Linked DNA regions of Homo sapiens: region 2 is linked to region 1. The links are contacts of gene promoters, found by promoter capture Hi-C in human tissues and cell types (Jung and others, 2019). All regions are on one chromosome and are shown on one strand. Each heading gives the region's core, a stretch centred on a gene start or on the middle of the fragment in contact. The rest is flanking DNA. Distances are from core to core; before and after follow the strand shown.

The links. Contacts are between HindIII fragments. The study calls those that stand out against the background at their distance.
Region 2: a contact is called between a fragment that was not itself captured here and the fragment with the promoter of CD1D in region 1, in 1 of the 25 tissues and cell types used here (H1 embryonic stem cells).

Annotation. Positions count from the first base shown.
Region 1 is chr1:158,177,548-158,184,216 of GRCh38, forward strand. It overlaps CD1D (CD1d molecule), which reads left to right and starts at 3,348. Exons shown (of 6, transcript NM_001371762.2): 1 at 3,348-3,615; 2 at 3,908-4,174; 3 at 4,485-4,763; 4 at 5,331-5,609; 5 at 6,389-6,488; 6 at 6,582-6,669. The coding sequence starts at 3,555. The coding sequence ends at 6,603. It also overlaps the pseudogene ELL2P1. RefSeq lists a silencer at 2,357-2,406 and an enhancer at 3,819-3,878. The HindIII fragment of the contact is 11,336 bases long and covers 7-6,669 here.
Region 2 is chr1:157,969,305-157,975,973 of GRCh38, forward strand. No RefSeq gene overlaps it. Among named protein-coding and RNA genes, the nearest start is that of KIRREL1, 21 kb to the right of the region's middle. The HindIII fragment of the contact is 6,616 bases long and covers 1-5,634 here.

The DNA.
Region 1 (6,669 bases), core at 2,098-4,597:
ATCATTTTTGGGAATTTTGACAAGCTCCTGGAGTCTTTGGAACTGAATTGAAGGTCGAAAAGAAATTAAATTCTTGTGGCTCTGGTAAGTCTGGAGCGCCTGGATCGCCGACTCGGTGAGCTTCACATGCAGTACGGTGATGTTGTCCTGCCCCAGCCGTCCGCACGAGAGCCCATAGCGCTGCCCCGCGACCCCCCCACCCCCGACATCTTAAACTCCCAGAGGTGCCGCCGCCGCCAGTCCAGCTCCAGCCTCCACTGCGGCCGCAGCTGCTTGGGCTTCTGCAGCCGCCGCCACTGCTAGGGCCATCCCGCTGCTGGCGTACTGTCATATACTGCGCGGAGCCAGACCTCGGACTGCCATCGCCGCCACCTGCCCCACCCTCTGGCCCCGCGCCCCGCCCCAGGCTAGTCTCATTGGTCTAGTTCCCTCAGAACCGTCCTCATCGGCCGCCCTCCACTTTCACGGGGGCGGGGCCCAAAGTCGCTGGAGTTTTGCTCCTGGGACTGGACGTCCGAGAGGTAAGAGAGCTATCACAAGGTTTTCTAATCCTTATGTTTCTTTTAGTGGATCTCCAGGTTACTGTGGTTTGTATTATCAGGCTACTTACAAAAATGAATACCTCTTTAAATCAGGCCATTTTACAGCAAACTACGGTCCTTGATCACCATTATGCTCTGAATAAAGACTATGAGCAATTGCACTTGAATGCTGTTAAACTTTATTGACTGAACTTTGAATTGTTTGATTTTGATCAGGTTGGCTTGTGGAAAGTGCTATTAAGAAGAGTTCTTTAGTTCGTTGGTATTATCCTCCTGATAGCTATTATAAAAGTTTCCCTGATGTGTCCTCTCAAGAATCTTAAATTCTCATATGCAGCTATCCTTTGTACATTAAATGGTCTCCTTATGGTTAGGATAACAAAAACATGAAGAAAGCATATAAGATTCCAACTAATTTGACGTTGTGAATTGTGAATTCTGAACTGAAACCAAGTAAGTCCCTTATGATCAGGCTCCAAGGTTTTGGTCAGCCTCTCAAAATTGAGAGGCTGAAACCCTTTGACCAAAATTAACACATTTGCCCCTTCCCTCCAGCTCCTGGAAACCACTACCCTAACTCTGTTTCCATAAAATAGTAAACTATTTTAGAGTCCACATATAAGTGAGATCATGTAGTACCCACCGTGGGCTTATTTTAAGGCTCTGAGTAAATCACCATCTCTCTGTGCTAGGGTATTCTGAGTCAGTCTTGTTATAAAATATTTTGTTTAGGTAACATATTGCAAAACGTTTCATAATTCAATGGTTCCTTTCCCAGAAAAAAAGCAGTGAAAGTTCCAATAGCCAAAAAGTGTCTAACTCAACTGACCTTTGGGAAAAAATATCCGTATAATTCCAGATAGTCCTAACTTCTGAAGGTAATATAGCCTGGCCTCTGTTGATAAACAAACAAAAACAAAAAAACCACACACACACACACAAACCAGCTTCTTGTCTTTAAGTGTGCAAGAATGTTAGCACTTAAAATTTTTAAGATACACAAAAACTAAACAGAACTGTTCAAGTTTTTAAAGGGAGCTTGGAAATTTGAAGAAAGTAAAGTTAAAAATATTGCCCCATGAGTCATATAATTATTTTTCTTTTTATTTCTCATAGCTTCCCTCCTATCCATTATTTAGGCAATTTTGTATCCAAATTTAATAATTTAACACCTTATTTGTTACAAGAACACGTTACTATGTTATTTTAAGCTTTTTTGGGCAAATTACACATAATTAGATAGGCTGGGTTAGGGCTGTCTACAAGATCCCAGCCTAGAGTGTGGTGCAGTAGCCTATTTTCTCTAGGACTCTTGCTGCAACAGGATATGGGAGAAGGGAAACATTAACGTTAGCAGAATGGGAGGAATCAGATTATGGAGACATGATCCTTGCCTTCTGGCACCTCTCCAGCTGATTTAGAAGAGGACACAGAGGGAGACAGACATATGGCCATTTCTATAATTATAAACTCTGCTACATGCTGAGAGGATGGCTTCTCAAAGCCAGTTAGTGTACAAGCAGTGGAGGTTGGGACTGCCCTACTTCTCCTGCCTAGGGTCACACAGTCTGGCAGATCTGGAAAGACTTCCCTGAGAAAGTGACCTTGGAACTGATACCTTAGTGGAAATAACTAGGCATTGGGAGGGGGTGAGGTGAGGAGAAGGTCAAGAGCTTTCATGTAGAGGGAACTTTGTGCAGAGACCTTAGTCAGGAAGAGGTTTTGCATAGTGGAGGAACTGAAAGCTAACAGCCAGGCTACAGTACAGAGCAAATGATGCTGGGGTGTGAGGTGATGTCAAAAGGTAGACACCAGGGCTAGAGGGCGCATAATCTTGCAGGCCGTGCTAATGATTTTGTTTTCTACCCAAGAATGCTACTTCAGGAGATCAGTCAAAAGGTTAGGGTGATGGTGACGGTGGAAATATAGAAAAAGGAATTTATTCAAGAGGTATTCAAAAAGAAGTGAAATAGAGATGAGTTGGAGATAGATTGGATAAAAAGAGTGAGGGAGAGGGAGGTGTCAGGCTGCAGCCCAGGTTCTGAGTTGCCAAAGAGGAGTCTTTTCCTCCAGGTGAGCTAAGGCTTAGAACCACGATTTTTGGTCACTTTTTCTTATTTTCAGTGTGAGAAGTGGCGAGTTGGCTGTCCAGGTACACACTGTCATCTTACACTTACTGTTTAAGACAGAGGCGCATATTTGGAAAGTGAATGAGTCAGGAGCCAGAGGAGAAGGTATGCCGGCAGAGCCTAGGGCGGAGAGGAGGAAGAGAGTCTGGGGGCGCGTCCCCAAAAAGGAGACAGGGAAGACAGAGCAGAGGCCGGGGAGGGGAGAGCAAGGACCATGACAGGAGGAAAGAGAGGCTAGGGAACACTGAGGTGGAGGAATCCTGGGATATGACAGTTGTAAAGAATTGTAGCCAACCTAATCCAGTTCTCTCAATGTGCAACTGAGGAAATTAATTTTCATGCGTTTACTTTATTGTAAATGTGGTACTTGCACTTGAGAAATTTTGGAAAACATAAAGATGTAAAGCAAATTAAGATCACTCATAGTCTTTCCACCTAGAGACATGTACTGCTAAAGCAAGGACTTTGATCCTTTTTTCCCTTTGCATTTTTACCATGGTTGGAATTGTAACACAGACACAACCTTATGTCCTGCTTCCAAAACATAAATAATGGTTGTAAAGCGTCCCACACGTTGACCCAAAGTCTCCTTTGAAACAGGAAATTGAGACACGCCGGTTGTGAAACCTACTGAAGTGAGCGGCGGCGCCAGGATTCCTGGGACCCCGACCTCTTTGCAGCTCGCACAGCTAAGGGCGAGGGCGCCCTTCGGCAGAAGCAGCAAACCGCCGGCAAGCCCAGCGAGGAGGGCTGCCGGGGTCTGGGCTTGGGAATTGGCTGGCACCCAGCGGAAAGGGACGTGAGCTGAGCGGCGGGGGAGAAGAGTGCGCAGGTCAGAGGGCGGCGCGCAGCGGCGCTCCGCGAGGTCCCCACGCCGGGCGATATGGGGTGCCTGCTGTTTCTGCTGCTCTGGGCGCTCCTCCAGGCTTGGGGAAGCGCTGAAGGTGGGTGGAACGAGGGCGCTTGAGTGCACTCGCGGGAGGGCGGAGAGAGGGAGCTGGGTAGGGACGGGGAGGGCAACGCCTGATGGGGACTGGTGAGACCCGGGACGCACTGGCGCGATCTAGGTAGAAAACTCGCTGCTCCCTGGCTCCGGGGAGAGGCAGCGCGGCACAGAGTTCGCTGGCATCAGCCGCCTCCTGAAGCTCATCTCCTCTTGTTTCTTTCTTCCTTCTCTTTATGCTGGCTGCTCTCCCGGCCACTTGCTACACGCCTCCAATCTTCATTCTCTCCCAGTCCCGCAAAGGCTTTTCCCCCTCCGCTGCCTCCAGATCTCGTCCTTCGCCAATAGCAGCTGGACGCGCACCGACGGCTTGGCGTGGCTGGGGGAGCTGCAGACGCACAGCTGGAGCAACGACTCGGACACCGTCCGCTCTCTGAAGCCTTGGTCCCAGGGCACGTTCAGCGACCAGCAGTGGGAGACGCTGCAGCATATATTTCGGGTTTATCGAAGCAGCTTCACCAGGGACGTGAAGGAATTCGCCAAAATGCTACGCTTATCCTGTGAGCTGAGGGATAGGATCCTGGGCCGGTACCCAAGGGGAGAGAATGGCCACAGAAACTCAACTGGGAGACTGTGGCACCACCTGATGAGATTCTCTGCTCTGTCCACCCTCTTCTGATTTCCCTTCTACCTGGAGATGTCCCAGGCTTTGACTCCTCAAAGTGTCCCTCGTTCCTGCCTACTCCAGGTCACTTACTTTCCTTTCCCTGAAGTCTGGGTCCCCATTATAACCTGCACATCAATTTCTTCTCTTTCATCTCTCCCAGTCTTTTAAACCCTTCTTTGATCTTTCTCCATTCCTCTCCACAGATCCCTTGGAGCTCCAGGTGTCCGCTGGCTGTGAGGTGCACCCTGGGAACGCCTCAAATAACTTCTTCCATGTAGCATTTCAAGGAAAAGATATCCTGAGTTTCCAAGGAACTTCTTGGGAGCCAACCCAAGAGGCCCCACTTTGGGTAAACTTGGCCATTCAAGTGCTCAACCAGGACAAGTGGACGAGGGAAACAGTGCAGTGGCTCCTTAATGGCACCTGCCCCCAATTTGTCAGTGGCCTCCTTGAGTCAGGGAAGTCGGAACTGAAGAAGCAAGGTCAGCCTGCCTTCCTTACTCCCTGCATTCCACTTCAGGGCTCCAAACGGGCTTTTCCATTCCAGGGTTCTCATCCCTTTGAGCATTCAAAGAAGAGGAAGGCCCAGGAGGGGCTGGATAAGGGGTGAGGGTATTTATTCATTTCACAGACATCAACTGAGCACCTCTTGGGTTCTATGAATTCAATTAATGAACAACTGGGGGTGAAAGGTGTCAGGCAGTTAGTTAGGATCCCTGCTTGGTAGGGGGATGTTAATTAATGCAATGCTTGAAATAGGCTACATATGTTACTTCAAAACAAAGGGTGTTATAGGGGAACAGACAAGGGGCATTCATAGGAGGCTGGGACCAGAGAAGAAGAAGGAGTATCAGGGCAGGCTCCCTGAAGAAGGTGGGACAAATGGATTGAAAGTTGTGGGAGACTTCATTTCCAGAAGTGAACATGTCAGGGGCATACAGGAAGGAGGGAAATAAAGACCTGAAAGTCAAAAAGGATGATATGAGGCCTGGAGCCTCTAATGCAGAGTTTTCACTTTAAGATCCCCCCCATTCCCTTGTTGGATACAGTGAAGCCCAAGGCCTGGCTGTCCCGTGGCCCCAGTCCTGGCCCTGGCCGTCTGCTGCTGGTGTGCCATGTCTCAGGATTCTACCCAAAGCCTGTATGGGTGAAGTGGATGCGGGGTGAGCAGGAGCAGCAGGGCACTCAGCCAGGGGACATCCTGCCCAATGCTGACGAGACATGGTATCTCCGAGCAACCCTGGATGTGGTGGCTGGGGAGGCAGCTGGCCTGTCCTGTCGGGTGAAGCACAGCAGTCTAGAGGGCCAGGACATCGTCCTCTACTGGGGTGAGAAAAAGCTGGGCCCAAGCTGGAAATGGCAGGAGGTGGTCCTCAGGCATAGAGGGAGGCACTGGGGTGGGATGTGGCTTGATATACCCAGGTTAGAGGAGTTTCAGAGATGAGGCCCCCAGTAAAAGGATAGAGAGAGGGGTTCCAGACACAGGAAGGAGGGAAATAAAGACCTGAAAGTCTAAAAGGATTGAAATAGTGCTCTCTATATACAAGAAGAAACAAGACTACAAAACTCAGGGATCCAGAAGTAGGCAGCGAATAAACAATCCCAGGACGATTCATTCCTTGGCTTAAAGGGAGCCAGGCCTTTGGGAAGGCAGGTTAGCAAAGATAGCTTGGTTGGTTGAGTGCTCCCTGTGTAGGGGCCAATGAATCTGCATATAATATCTCATCTCATCATTCACAGTTTTCTTTGAAGCAAGTACTGCTCTTTTCGTTATATAGATGAGGAAATGAAGGCGGAGATAGGTTAACTGCCCGGAGCCACATAGAAAGTGGACGGGCTGGATTTAGATTCAGGTCTGCCTTGCTACAAAGCTGTTGCCCTTTCCCTCTATGCTACACTAGCAAATGTCAAAGTGGGCTGAATTTGGGATGCCCAGGCACTGAAAACAAGATGGGGAATCTAAACTTATGAGGAATAGAAATTGGGGTTTTAAGTGGAGGAGGAAATAAGAAGCACCTGGTACCCTCACACATGCCTAGACCAGGGGATTGGATATATGTAGAGAGGGGTCCTGTGCTGAGAGACAGCCTATGTTCCTCCAGAGCAGGTGGGAGCTACACCTCCATGGGCTTGATTGCCTTGGCAGTCCTGGCGTGCTTGCTGTTCCTCCTCATTGTGGGCTTTACCTCCCGGTTTAAGAGGCAAACGTAAGTCTCCCCTTTCCCTTTCCTCAACCTCTCTCCCCTTCATTCCTGGCTTCCCTTTTCCTTAATGGTCTTTCCCTTTCTATTCTCTCACAGTTCCTATCAGGGCGTCCTGTGACTCGCCTTGCCACATCTGTGTCTCTGGAACCCAGGACCTCTGGACCTCAGGTTCCTAAGACTTCAG
Region 2 (6,669 bases), core at 1,077-3,576, 210 kb before region 1:
AACAGGTATTGAATGTGGTGAGGGTCAATTGAAAAACAACAGCTCTCTGATGACAATCAGCAGACAAAGAAAAGACTTGTTACATCAGAAGCTTTCCTTACCCACTTTCCAGCCTGGTGGATGTGGTCTTAGCCTTGGATATGGCAGATGCTTTAGAAAGAGGTCAGGGTTCTGACCACTGAATCAGGGTGAACTGGACAGCTATGGAGGTGAGAAGAGTGCAGTAGGAGAGAGTAAGGATGATACTCACCGTGTAGGTCTGTGAGCCAGTTCGACTGTTTCTAGCACATTTATAGAAGCAAGGAGAGCTGGCCTGGTGGGACAGAGCATAAAGATGGGGAAACTGTGAGGCTTTTTGCTCCTCTCTTGTAAGATTTCTGATATTAAAATCAAAACAAATATTCATTGCAAACCTATTTATATGTGTCATGCACTGGGTTAGGGACTTTCATTCTGTTATTTAATTTTCTCCTCACCGCAGCCCTTTGGATATGTTTTACAATTCCTACTTCCCAGATTATTAAATTGAGGCTCAAAGAAGGAAATGATTCATACACTGGTTAAGTGTTGAGCCAGAATATACAGCCAGGTCTTCTAAAACCTGCCTCCAAATTTCCTCCCCTTGACCATCCTCCACTAGGTGGCCATAGTGAGCCACTTGAAACACCAAATCCCATCATATTGTTCCTTAGCCTACAATCCTGCAGTGGCTCCTGGTGTTGCCAGGACAAAGTCAAAACCCTGGGTATGGCATACAAGACCTTCTACATCCAGCTAATTACATTTTCAATCTCATATTCCATCTAATCCCTGCCTCACTGTCTGCACCCAATGATAAGAAATGCTATCATTTATTGAGCATCTACGATGTGCCAGACACTGTCCCAAGCACTTCACGTGAATTGATTTGTTTCCTTCTCATGACAACCCTATGAGGCAGACACTATGATATTCCCCACTTTATGACTGGGGAAACTGATTCACCTAGTGGTTTAGTAATGTGCCCAAGGTCACATATCTTGCAGAGAGTCTGGGAGTCACACCCAGGCAGTTCAGCTCTTGAAAAGAAATGCTGCTCTCTTTGTGATTTCCACACACAACAAGCTGTTTCAAGCTTCCATGATTTGATTTATATTCTCCCTTCTACTTGAAATACCATTCCCTTCTTTCTTCCCCTGGATAAAAATCACTTATCTTTCAAGACTTGGTTTAGGACTTATCTTTTCAAAGTATTTCTGTTAGTCCATTTCACATGGCTGTAAAGGAATGCCTGAGGCTGGGTAATATATAAAGAAAAGAGGCATATTTTGATTCATGGTTCTGCAGGCTGTATAAGAAGCATGTTACTGGCATCTGCTCCTGGTAAGACCCCAGGAACCTTCCAATCATGGTGGAAAGTAAAGGGGAAGTCAGTGTATCACATGGCAAGAGAAGGAGCAAGAGAGAGAGGGGAGATAGTGCCAGGCTTTTTTAAACAACCAGGTCTCATGTGAACTCACAGAGTGAGAACTCACTCATTGCCACAAGGACAGTATCATGCCATTGATGAAGGATCTGCCTTCATGACTGAAACACCTCCCACCAGGCCCACCTTCAACATTATAGGTCACATTTCACCATGAGATTTGGAGGGGACAGAACATCCAAATCATATCTTTCAGACCCTGGCTCCCTAAATTTCATGGTTTTCTCACATTGCAAAATACAACCATCTTTTCCCAATAGTCCCCAAAAGTCTTAGCTCATTCTAGCATCCACTCAATCAAAAGTCCAAAGTCTCATCTGAGACTCAAGGCAGGTTCCTTCTATTTATGAGTCTGTAAAACCAAAAACAACCTATTTACTTCCAAGATACAATGGTGATACCAGTATTGGGTAAACATTCCACTCTGAAAGGGAGATACCAGCCAAAAGAAAGGGACAACAGGCACCATGGAGTCTGAAACCCAGCAGGGCAATCCTTACCTCTTAAAGCTCCAAAACAATCTTTGACTCCATGTCCTGCATCCTGTGCACATTGATGCAAGAAGTGGGCTCTCAAGGCCTTGGACAGCTCCACCCCTGTGGTTTTACAGGGTGCAGCCCCTGTGGCTGCTCTCACAGGTTGGAGTTAAGTGTCTGTGGCTTTTTCAGATTCAGGGTGCATGCTGCCAGTGGCTCTCCCATTCATGGGTCTAGAGGACAGCGGCCTCCTTCCCACAGCTCCACTAGCCAGTGCCCTAATGCAAACTCTGTGTGGGGGCTCCAATCCCACATTTCCCCTTGGCACTGTCCTAGTAAAGTCTCTCTGTGGGGGTTCTGTCCCTGTGACAGGCTTCTGCCTGGGCACACAGGCTTTCTAATACATCCTCTGGAATCTAGGCGGGAGCTGGCAAAACTCCTTCATTCTTGCATTTTGCACACCTGCAGGCTTAACACCATGTGGAAGCTACCAAGTCTTATAGTGACACCCTCCAAAGCAGCAGCCTGAGCTGCATCTTGGCCCCTTTGAGCCAAGGCTGCAGCTTGAGTGACTAGGATGTGGGGAGCTGTATCCTCAGGCTACACAGAGTAGCAGGGCCCTGCACCTGGTGTCCAAAACCATTCTTTCCTCCTAGGCCTCTTGGCCTGTGATGGGAGGGCCTGCCTTAAAGATTTCAGAAATGCCTTTGAGACCTTTTTCCCATTGTCTTGGATATTAGCACTTGATTCCCTTTTAGTCATGCTAATCCCTCTAGCAAGTGCTTGCTCCACAGCCAGCTTGTGTTCCTCTTCTGAAAATGCTCTTTCCTTCTCTACCATCCAGGGTTGTAAGTTTGCAGAAGTTTTATGCTCTGCTTCCCTTTTAATTATAACTTCTAATTTTAAGTCATTATTTTGTTCTCACATCTGATAATAGGCTGTTAGAAGCAGCCATGTGCATCTTGAATGCTTTGCTGCTTAGAAATTCTGCCAGATACCCTAGGTCATCAGTCTTAAGTTCAACCTTCCCTAGCTCCTGGGCCCAGACACAATGCAGCCAAGTTCTTTAAGGCATAACAAGGATGACCTTTGTTCTAATTCTCAATAAATTCCTTATCCCCATGAGACCTCATCAGCCTGGCCTTCACTGGCCATATTTCTATCAGCATTTTGGTCAAAACCACTTAACAAATCTCTAAGAAGTTCCAAATCCCTCTCATCTTCCTGTCTTCTTCTTAGCCCTCAAGCTCTTCCAACCTCTGCCTGTTACCCAGTTCCAAAACTGCTTCCACATTTTCAGGTATCTTTATAGCAATGTCCTACTTTTTGGTACCAATTTTTTTGTTAGTCCATTTTCCATTGCTATGAAGAAATACCTGAGGCTGGGTAATTCATAAAGAAAAGAGGTGTCTTTTGGCTCACAGTTCTGTAGGCTGTATAAGAAACATGGTGGCAGCAACTGCTCCTGGTAAGGCCTCGAGAATCTTCCAATCATGGTGGAAGGCAAAGTGGGAGCCAGTGTATCACATGGCAAGAAAGGGAGCAAGATAGAAGGGAGGAGGTGCCGGGTTCTTTGAAACAACCAGATGTCAGGTAAACTAATAGAATGAGAGCTCACTCATTACTGCAAGGACAGCACCAAGACATTCATGAGGGATCCATTCCCAAGACTCAAACACCTCCCACTAGGCCCACCTCCAACATTTCTTTCTTTCTTTTTTTTTTTTTTTTTGAGACAGAGTCTTGCCCTGTCACCCAGGCTGGAGTACAGTGGCATGATCTTGGCTCACTGCAACTTCCACCTCTTGGGTTCAAGTGATTCTCCTCCCTCAGCCTCCTGAGTAGTTGGGACTACAGGCACACGCCACCATGCCCAGCTAATTTTTTTGTATTTTTAGTAGAGATGGGATTTCACCATGTTGCCTAGGCTGGTCTAGATCCCTCAACCTTGTGATCTGCCTGACTCAGCCTCCCAAAGTGCTGGGGTTACAGGCATGAGCCACCACACCCGGCCTCTAACATTTCAACATAAGATTCCGATGGAGCAAAACATCCAAATTAGGCTAGAGTTTCAATTCTCTCTGGGGTGCATTGGTACAGACCCCTGTAAACAGCTCTATGTCATCTCTTCTGCCCATGGGTCTGTCTCCCGCTAGACTTAATGGCAACTTGAGAACAGACCATACCATATTCATCCTTATTTCTCCAATCTTAAAGAAAAAATCTTGACCCCACTTCCCTCTGTAGTTACCACCCATTTATTTCCTTCTTTATACAGCATAATGTCTCACACCATTGTCCATACTCATTGTTCCTCATGTGTTTCCTCACATTCTTTTTTGAACCCACTTCAGGCAGGCCTTAGCCCCCACTACCCCACCAGGAAGGTTGCAGTCTTTGACACAGCTGACCACTCTTTCCCCCTTGAAATTCTTTATCTCCTTGGTTTCCAGGACACCACCCTCCCCTGAGTTTGTCTCCACTCTCCTTCAATGTCTCCTTTGCTGGTTCCTTCTTGTTTCCCTGACCTCTAAAGATTGGAGCGCCCCCAATTTCAATCTCTGGACCTCTTCTCTTTTCTTATCCACACTCACTCACATCTTAGGTGATCTCATTCAGTCTCATGGCTTTAAATACCATCTATATGCTAATGACTCCCAAATTTATAACTTCTGCTCAGAATATTCTTTCCTGAATTCTACATTCTGTTATCCAACTATATAGTAGCACTCTCCACTAGGGTGTCTAAGAGATACCTGAAACTTAACATGTCAAAAAACAAGTTCCTGTTCTTTCCTCATGCCCCTCACCTGCTCCTACTGCTTTCTTTTCTGTCGCAACAGATGACACTGCCTTCATCCTTCCAGTTGTGCAGGCTGAGATCCCAGGCATCATCCTCGACTTTGCTCTTCCCATACCTCATGTCTAATCATCAATAAATCATGTCCATACTGTCTTCAAGAGAAATCCAGACCCCAGCTCTCATCCTAACCCAAGCCACTCTTCACGGATGGTTGAGCAGTCCCCCCCATGGCTCTCTGCCTTTGCCCCTTTCCCTTTGCCCTCTATCCTTGACATGGCAGCCAAAGTGTTCCTGTAAAAGCATAAGTCAGGCCATATCGTGATCATCCCTCTGCTCAAACCTTCCATTGGTAGCACATCTTATTGATATTAAAAGCCCAGAGTCGGCTGGGAGCAGTGGCTCACTCCTATAATCCCAGCACTTTGGGAGGCCGAGGCAGGTGGATGACCTGAGGTCAGGAGTTAAAGACTAGCCTGGCCAACATGGTGAAACCCCGTCTCTACTACAAATACAAAAATTAGCCAGGTGTAGTGACATGTGCCTGTAATCCCAGCTATTCAGGAGGTTGAGGCATGAGAATCGCTTGAACCCAGGGGGCGGAGGTTGCATGAGTGGAGATGGTGCCACTGCACTCCAGCCTGGGCAACAGAGCGAGATTTCATCTTAAAAAAAAAAAAAAAAGAAAAAAAGAAAGAAAGAAAAAGAAAAGCCCAGATCTCTACAGTGACCTCTATGGCTGCTAATTGCCGTTCTAACCACTGCCTTTCTGATCATTTACTATTCTCCTCACCCTCTGGGCTTGAGACATCTCCTGGTCTTTGCTGTTACTCAAACACATTAAATGTGCTCCTACTTCACAGACTTCACATTTGCTGTGGCCTCTCTAGAATACTTTCTCCAGATTTCTGGATGTCTAACTCCCTCACGTCCTTTAAGTTGTTATTAAATGTCACCTTTTCAGTGAGGCTTTTCCTGGTAAACCCTTCCCACCTCCCAATATGTTCTTTCCCCACTTTCTTCTTAGTCCCCTTAGTACTTAATATTACCTAACATAGTATGCATTTTACTTATTTATAATATTAACTGTTTATTTCCCTTTCATAAAGTCAGAGATTTGGGGGATTCTGCTTTTATCACTGCTGTTTCTTCCGTGCCTAGCACAATACTGAGCACGTAGTAGGCACTCAATAAGTGAATGAATGAATGAATCTTTGTGGCTTTACACGTACCTCCTTTGTAAACATTTGTTGAACTGAACAAATTCTCCAAAGTCCACCACAGAGTGGTGTTTCTTTATTGGCAGCAAGCACTGCAAATTTTCCAAGCATCAGACGCTACTCCATTCACATGTAAATACAGAAACATAGCCCCTAGCCAGAGAGAAATTGCTTCTGTGTTCTCTCTTATATGTTGATTGCCTAGGCCTCTGTCCCATCCATCAGAGAGAAGAACAGACAGTTGACTGGAATGTGGTTCACTTACAAATAGAAGAAATGACTGGAAAACCAGCTACTTGATGAGCAAAGTTCTGGAAAATGCTCTGTTCAGAAGGAGAGAGGCAGTTTCTTGCTCACCTGGGAGGAAATTTTTGGTTTATTGTGTTTCTCTCCAAAGTTATAGCTTTCCAATCCTGCCAGAAGCCACCAAGGGAGCACTGCCTTTCAGAGTGGGGCTTCCAATTCTGAAAAATTAATTTTAAATAGAGACACATTACACCTCCCCACAGAACACTTAGCAAGAAAGTGCTACTTAGACTGGGCTTGGCTGCCAAGACTGCTCAAGCTGGGGTACTGATGGTAGGTGGCTCTTTGTCCCCTAGCCCATCCCCATAGGCCCAGCCCTGGCCTGGCTCCCAGCTCCTCCTCCCTTCCTGAATGTATACCCACAGTTCTGCCTTCTCTTTTGCCCCTCATCAGTGATTTAAA